Regions from separate parts of the Homo sapiens genome. Here regions 1 and 3 are each linked to region 2. The links are contacts of gene promoters, found by promoter capture Hi-C in blood cells and fetal thymus (Javierre and others, 2016). All regions are on one chromosome and are shown on one strand. Each heading gives the region's core, a stretch centred on a gene start or on the middle of the fragment in contact. The rest is flanking DNA. Distances are from core to core; before and after follow the strand shown.

Region 1 (2,700 bases), core at 198-2,697, 270 kb after region 2:
GTGTCTGTGAGAAAGAGATTTAATGTATTTATATTCCTTTGATGCCTACTTCCCCTCTGAGTTTCTATTACCACAACCAATGATCCCCCTGCATGTAGTTTTGTAATGTGAAGCCCACACATAGAGTTTTTTTTTTTTTAAGTAAAATTGAGCTTCTAAAATTACCTAAGAGCTGCCAATTCTGAAAATTAACCTCTGTTTAATTAGTTTTGAATGACAACAAACCCAAACTAGTTAAGGTAGAAGCTGAGAGGAAGGAGTACTATGGGAGTTTTCACATTGAATCTCCTGTGTGGCCCTCAAACCAAAGTTTCAGGAGAATGCTGCCAAATAAAAGAGTGGATGATTAAGTGGAAATTAGGAAAACTTTTGTAAAATTGACAAAGGAAAGTCAGAACATTTCAAAGTTTTCTCAGAACTGAATAACAATATAGATCTTCCCTGTCTTTTTCTACCTCTCCCCGCAAGACCTGAGTGCCGGTCATTTTTTAGAAAAGGTGCTCAAATTGACACTTTGGAGATTTCCAGTGCCTTCTATGTGACATGTTTAAGTGCAGGGCTGTGAGGTGAGCACTGATACCATCCCCATTCATTTCAAAGGCTTAGTGCACTATTCAGGCTCGCGGTGAGGGCCCAGTTGATGCTAGCCACTATTACTCTATTAATTTGTGGGAGTAACCAGCCCTTCTGCTTGGGACTGGAACCATTTCTGATTGGTTGGTAATTGCTTTACTATGTTTTGAATGGTGGCACTTAGTGGGCAGAGTTTTCTAGTAAAATCTCAATAGGTATAAAGTGTACAGGTGTCTTCGTAACTTGTTTATAAGCTTACTTGAAGGTAAAGATATTGTTCCATCGATCTTTGTGGCTCACACAGCACGTAGCACAGTAGTTTTCCATAGTAGGTCCTCAAAGAAACTTTTAAATAATAAAATGAAACCTCTGTGTGTAAAGCCATAGACGTGCTTGGTTGGTTTTGTGAAATCTCGTGTCTAAGCAAAAGGCTGATCGACATGGAAGGGTGATGATACCTGAAGAAATGAGCAAAGGTGCCCCCCAACAGAACCTTCCATGATGATGGAAATGTTCTGACCTATGTTGTCCACTAGGGGAGCCACCAGCCACCAGTGAATGCTGAGCACCTGGAATGTGGGTACCATGGCTGAAGTACTAAATGTTCAAGTTTATTCAATTTTAATTAATTTCACTTGGAAGTTACAGAGCCACATGTGGCTAGTGGCCCCTATACTGAACAGCATAGCACAGGCCTAGACCTCCAGTTGAGAATCTGGCAAAAAGGCCCATTTCAGTTGTAGCCATTGAACAAAAGCAGTGATCTCAAAGTGTACCCCTCAGTCAGCAGCATCGGCATTGCCTGAGAACTTTATTAGACTTGCACGCTTTTGGAGCTCATGCTACACCTTCTGAAACAAATTCTGGGGATGAGGCCAAGCAATCTGTATTTTTACAATCCCTTTGTGGTTCTGATGCACCCTCCCATTTGAGAACCTCTGATCTAATTTAAAATTAAAGCAAAATGAGATTCTGATCTACGCTGGTCACCTTTTCTCTGGCAGTGGTTCTCAGACCTCACCAGTGTGGCCTAGCTGCGTGAGAACCCCCAGGCCAATTTGTTACACATACACCCCCCCACACACTACCGAGTTCTACCCTTTAGGGATTCTGATTTTGAATATCTGGACTAGATCAGAAATCTCTACTTTTTTTTTTTAAAGCTCTGAGATACTTTTCATTCACAGCCAAATTGGGGAACCACTCTTAGATCCGGTCAGAGGGTCTCTGGAATTTTATCTCTGATCACGGCAGGACTTGATCCACTCCATTAACCTATGTCCTGTCCCTCCTTTCCTCCTGAGGCCAGTGGAGAAAGGGACCCCAACCTCACTGACTTTCACAGAGCGTTTTTACATCTGCCATTAGATCAAAAAGGTTGCACTAAGGCCCCTGGGCGCCAGGGGGCTCTGTGGAGACTTTGGGCTTCAGGCTTTTCTGTTGGGTTCTAGACTGTTTTGCAAACTATCCGTGTCCAAGAACCAGGTTTTTCCCCTAAGCTTTTACAGACCATTACTTTTTAAAAATGCAATAAAAGTTACTAGAAAGACACAATAAAGACATAGAAAATACAAGGCCTGATTTTCTCCAACAGTGTTACTGTGAACATTGTAAAATATATAAAAAGTCGAAATAATTGCTTTGTACAGTGAACACCAATATACCCACCACCTGGATCCTACCATTAGCATTTTGTTATATTTGCTTTATTATTTATTGATCCGTGTTTCTATCCATTAATCCAAGTTTGGTTTTTTTTTTGTTTTTTGTTTTTTTTTGTTTTTTTATGAACTTAAAGTAAGTTGCTGACATTAGTGCACTTCACCCCTGGACAGTTCAGTATACATATCACGGACGATGTTTCAATTTTTTTTTTTTTTTTTTTTTTTTTACTTTAGTAGAGACATGGTTTCACCATGTTGGCCAGAACGGTCTCGAACTCCCTGGCTTTGAGTGATCCGCCCACCTTGACCTCCCAAAGTGCTGGGATTACATGCGTGAACCACTGTGGCCAGCCAGGTTTCAATATTTTTACGAATTTTTTTTTTTGAGGCATACTTCACATACTGTGAAATGCACAGATCTTAAATGTACTATTCAAAAAAGAATCTTCAGAAATGCATATAC
Region 2 (2,700 bases), core at 103-2,602:
TGCAACTTTGGGAAAGTCACTTGTATACACCGGCCTCAGTTTCCTCATCTACAAAAGGAGTGAGTTCCACAGGATCATCTGTAATTCTGTTTAGCAACATTTTTTTTTCAGCATCTTCCCTGTTGGTGCCATTGGGCATTCAGAGAGGGTCAAGGCCTGGCCTCTGCCCTCCAGAAGGACAGGGTACAGGCACACACATAGATAACTCTAACAGAAGACAGGGTCCCGCGGAGCTGCTAAGTTCCTGAGCATGCGTGTTTGGGGAAGGGGTTTCTGGAGAGCTCCGTGGGGAGGCAGTGCTTGACCTGGGCTTTGAAGACAGAGATTGTGTCTTTCCCTGCTGAAAAACACTTTGTCCTCAAGATAAAGGCCAAATTTCCAGCTAAGCACACAGGTTCCTCATGATGTCCTCAGCTCCCTTCCGCTGCTTCTCCACTGTTTTCCCACTGCACTGTGATACTTCCAATTCTTGAAACATATTTTATACCTTCCCTTGCTTTCCTTCCATCTTTGTGCATGCTAGTTCTTTTGACCTGGGACTCCCTCCTCCCTCTGTTAGGGGACAGCAGAGGGGACAAGCAAGGCACTAGGGTCGGACTGGGGGATTCATATCCTACCTTTGCCACTGAGAGGCCAGTGGGTCGCCTGCTGTGTTGCTCAATCCCTAGGTGAGTCAGCGTCTTCATCTGCAAAATGGGGATACAAGGTAACAACAGTGACTCCCTCAAAGGGCAATGGTGAGGATTAAATGAGGTAACACACGCAAAGTGCTCGCCAGGCAGGCCCACAGTAATCATTGAATAAATATGGGCAGTGTGGCCCACTCCTACTTGCATTTCAGGTCTTAGCTTAGTCATCACCTCCTCTGAGGTTGGCTGTGTGCTCCCTTAGTACATGGTATCTCCTCTTCTACCACAGCCCGGCACCTGTCATCCCCACCACACTGCAAACTCTCCGAGGCCAACAGCCAGTCGACTGGGTTGGCTGCTGGTGGGGACGCATAATAGGCATTCAGGAAATACTGAATGAATGACATGGGGTGAGGGTCCCAGTGATACGAGGGCGTGCAGAGGCTGTAGGGGGCAGTCCGGGGTGGGGGTAGGTCGTGAGACTGAATGGGCAGGTGGATCTCAACTCTGCGGGGGACAGAGAGAGCATGGGCGTCCAGGCTGTCCAGGGCTCCTTCTTGCCCTGGGACTGACCCTGGGAGGGCGCAGCGCCCTGGGAGAGGATGGTGCTCAACTTTAACCGGGTCGGCGCCCTCGGGAGAAAATGCAGCCTGACGGGTCGGGTGAGCGCGCTCGGCCCCGCCCCGGCCCGGCCCGGCCCCGCCCCCGGCCCCACCCCCGGGCCTTCGCGGTGCAGCTGAGGCTGCAAGTAGCCGGCGCCGTCCCGCGTCGCCCCCGCGCAGGGCGGGCCCCGCACGCTTATTCTGCCCGGGAGGAACGCCGGCGTCCAGCCCGCTACCGACCGCCGCTGCGGGATGCTGCGCTCCACGTCCACGGTCACCCTGCTCTCGGGCGGCGCCGCCAGGACGCCCGGGGCGCCCAGCAGGAGGGTGAGTAGCGGGGGCGGGAGCCGCCGCCGTCCCGTTCCCCCATCCCGGCCGCCCCCTCTAGAGGGGACTAGGGATGGGAAAGCTCGGGAGCCAGCACCTGGCCCCGACGCCCCACCCTGGGCTCAACTCCCCGGTCCTGTGCCGGCTCTGGCAGTGACCCTCCCGCTTGAGGTTTCAGGGGGCCCACCAGCTGGTAGGAGAGGGCTTAGGGGACTTTATGGAATTCCCAGAGATTTCCTCTCCTTCCTGCCTTTCTGTCAAGCCGAGTTTATTGGCGGCACCAGTTTAAAAATGAAGGAAGACATTTGTGCAGTGTCCCTACCTTGAGACTCAAAAGTAATGAATGTATTTAAAACTCAAACTTTCCTTCTTCCATTAATTAAAAGAAAGATGGGGTCACTTGTGTCCACTAGTGATAGGGTATCCACTAGTGATAGGGTAATTCTGGAGTGGGGTTAGCCAAGGTGGGCAAACCAGAACAGCAGCCGGCCGCCCAGGAGCCCGACTGTGTGGGACTCCGGTTTATGTAAACCACTTTCTTCTGTCTGATTTAAATATTAGCACAGTGACAACAATGGCAGCACTGAAAGCTTGGGACAGCATCTCCAGGGAAGGTTTCCCTTTGGAAGTGCTGTTTCTTTTTGATCTTTGTGGCATCTTTTCCCATCTCTCCAGATGCTCTGTAAAAGAAATGCTCCATCTTTCTAACACGGTCAGCACCTTAGAGCCACAGCCAGGGGCTTGGCTTGTGGCTTTTTAGTTCTTCCATTTATCATGATGTTCAATACTTATCATTTGGTACCTCTTTGCTCTGATTGAGACTTCTGTAATCGTGTTTCCTCAAGATTTAAACAGGTGGTTAAGTCCAAAGCAAAACCCCCACTGGTTCTGTCTGCGTGCAGGCTTGGACCTGCTTATTTGCTTTTACATGCCTTAAGCGAGTGATGGTGGTCACCTTATAAGCTGTCTTTCTTAGCTCTAGAAGAAAGGTGTGTTACTCTTGGGCATGGGCCAACTGATGGATTCTGGGGTGTGTGTGTGCGTGCACTCACCAGACACTTAGGTTGTGTACACAGGCGCACACACACACACACACACACACACACCCCAGAATCCATCAGTTGGCTCATGCCCAAGGTTGA
Region 3 (2,700 bases), core at 87-2,586, 480 kb after region 2:
ACTGTCATCCAGGCTGGAGTGCAATGGTGTGATCTCGGCTCACTGCAACCTCCGCCTCCCAGGTTCCAGCGATTCTCCTGCCTCAGCCTCCCGAGTAGCTGGGATTACAGGCATCTGCCACCACACCCAGCTAATTTTTTGTGTTTTGGATAGAGACAGGATTTCCCTATGTCAGCCAGGCTGATCTCGAATGCCTGACCTCATGATTCACCCACCTCGGCCTCCCAAAGTGCTGGGATTACAGGTGTCAGCCACTGTATCTGGCCAAAAAAGATATATATTTTGTCTATATTCAGCTCGTGACAGCAGCCACTTTTTGTTCAAGCCCCCTTTTTTGTTTTTTTGAGACTGTCACCAAGGCTGGAGTGCAATGGCATGATCACGGCTCACTGCAACCTCTGCCTCCTGGGTTCAAGCGATTCTCCTGCTTCTGCCTCCTGAATGGCTAGGATTACAGGCACTCACCACCATGCCTAGCTAATTTTTGTATTTTTAGTGGAGATGGAGTTTCACCATGTTGGCCAGACTGGTCTCGAACTCTTGACCTTAACTGATCCACCCTCCTCGGACTCCCAAAGTGCTGGGATTACAGGCATGAGCCACCATGCCCGGCTGTTGTTCAAGCTTTTTAAATCAAGGTAGGGACAAGATGTAGCGGAAAAGAACAGTGAATTATAAATGCTTCTTTGGTGTTCATCTTCTTGGTTTCAGTTTGTAAGATTTACAAGGCTATTACTTCCAAGGCTGCCTTAACACCTCTTCTCACATTCTTATTTCCTCTTCTCTTTCTTTTATCATCTAGTTTTAGTGTTTTCTCATATCCTCTACAGATTTCACAATAGTTAAGAAGACAGTCTTTGGCCAGATGCGGTGGTTTACACCCGTAATTAGGCCAAGGTGGGAGGATTGCTTGAGGCTAGGAGTTCAAGACCAGTCTGGACAACATAGCAAGACCCTGCCTCTACCAAAAAAAAAAAAAAAGTATCCAGGCGTGGTGGTGCATTCCTATAGCCCTAGCTACTCAGGAGGCTGAAAGAGGAGAATCGCTTGAAGCAGGAGTTCAAGGTTATGGTGAGCTATGATCACGCTACTGCACTCCAGCCTGGGTGATGGAGTGAGACCCTGTCTCTAAAAATAAAAAGACAGTCAACTACCTTCAGATTTCTAACAATTTGAATTTCAGCCTTTTCCCCCCAATTTGGCTAAGAAACTGTTTTTTTCCCACCTTTACAGTGTTTCTCCTCCCACCCCCCCCATTCTGTAATTATTTATTGCTTAGGATACATCTTGTTTGAAACCCCTTGCATAAGGGAACCTAAGCTGCAGCATGCTGTATTTATTTCCTTATGAAAACAATTTATTAGGCCTGGTGGAGCCAATATCCTGGAGTTGCAGAGGAGAAAAATAAATTCTTGCCTCATATTTCCTCACCTAAATAATAGAATGCAAAGCTGTAATTTTAAGGCATCAGCTTTATGTGAAGTTTGACTTTAAGTTATGAAACCATAACAGTTTAGGTTTCTTGTTAGCTGCAGTTAAGGGGAGGAAAGTATTTGTTAAGTTGAGAACTAGTCTTTAGAAATCAATGAAGGGAACTAAATGCAGCTCAAAGATCCCTCTCAAAGAAGATGCACTTGATTTTGACAGTAACCGAATGTCCAGCTTGAATGTCAAGTTTCTATGTTTAGGGGCTGTTTCAGCCTCAGGTGGCCCTGCTTAATTGCTTTCCTGTTCCCATTACTAACCATGATGACAGCCTACCTTTCCTAACAGATACACTTGCATTTTAATTTATCTTCAAAAATAAATCACACATTATAGCATTCCCCTCTTCTGGGCTAATTGAATCAGTTCCTTAAATGTCTCTACATCTAATGATTTGAAAGAGGCACATTGTTTGAAATATTTAAAAAATTAGGGCCCTCAGGTTGTATGCAGAATGATCTCAGTGCTTATTTCAGATATAAGTGTTTCCTAATGATCTCATTCATCTCAAATGGGATATGCCTGGCCACTTTATTTGAAATGTTTCCTGAAAACTCTAACAGGAAAGCTTAATGCAAAATATATTTATAGAGAAATGGTATTTAATTTATTAACAAAAGCTTATAAAGAGCTTTACATATTTTTATCCAGAAATGCTTAATGAAGTATTTGGGACCCATTATGAAAACTTCTATAAAATAAATCCACTTATATTTTTATTTAACCTGTATATTAACTTTTTATGTGAGATCTAAACTCTCATTTAATTATCCTTTTCCTTCTAACATCCAGAAGAAAAGAGGCTGAGACTGTGGTATTTATTAACCATAAAAATTCTCTAGATATTAAGTTCCTCATTTCTTGATATGGCCTCTGGTCACTATATTCTATGAGAAGAGGTATTTGGAGTTGCAGGGAGTAGAGTCCTAATTGGTTATGACTCAAAAAACTATGTTTTGATACAAAACACAGTTCTTTTCTTTTAAAATATACCCTCTACTTTTCAGGGACCCCGGAGACTATTTTAAACATGGGAACTAGATTTGCCTTTGTTGTAAGGCCCAGTTCCATTTCGTATATGTTCGAGAAGCTTCAATTTGGGTACTGGGATGAGCGCAGTACTTCATCAATAATCACACTTAACAGACAGGAAGAAATTAAAATTCCAGCTGCACCGCCTTTTCTGAAGGGCCTGAGGGAAAAGGCATTGGCGCC

The links. Contacts are between HindIII fragments. The CHiCAGO score rates a contact against its expected background, and 5 or more counts as called.
Region 1: a contact is called between a fragment that was not itself captured here and the fragment with the promoter of GCOM1 in region 2, in 4 of 17 cell types (naive CD4 T cells, naive B cells, total CD4 T cells and 1 more). The highest score is 9.6, in naive CD4 T cells.
Region 3: a fragment that was not itself captured here is called in contact with the fragment with the promoter of GCOM1 in region 2 in 1 of 17 cell types (fetal thymus); the score reaches 7.0 in fetal thymus.

What each region holds. Positions count from the first base shown.
Region 1 is chr15:57,864,377-57,867,076 of GRCh38, forward strand. No RefSeq gene overlaps it. Among named protein-coding and RNA genes, the nearest start is that of POLR2M, 160 kb to the left of the region's middle. The HindIII fragment of the contact is 1,245 bases long and covers 826-2,070 here.
Region 2 is chr15:57,590,552-57,593,251 of GRCh38, forward strand. GCOM1 (GCOM1, MYZAP-POLR2M combined locus) reads left to right here and starts at 1,353. Exons shown (of 17, transcript NR_104371.3): 1 at 1,353-1,558. MYZAP (myocardial zonula adherens protein) reads left to right here and starts at 1,353. Exons shown (of 13, transcript NM_001018100.5): 1 at 1,353-1,558. The coding sequence starts at 1,484. RefSeq lists a silencer at 1,242-1,351. The HindIII fragment of the contact is 3,808 bases long and covers 1-2,146 here.
Region 3 is chr15:58,068,316-58,071,015 of GRCh38, forward strand. ALDH1A2-AS1 (ALDH1A2 antisense RNA 1) reads left to right here. Exons shown (of 3, transcript NR_147215.1): 3 at 2,493-2,700. Among named protein-coding and RNA genes, the nearest start is that of ALDH1A2, 4.0 kb to the left of the region's middle. The HindIII fragment of the contact is 1,429 bases long and covers 623-2,051 here.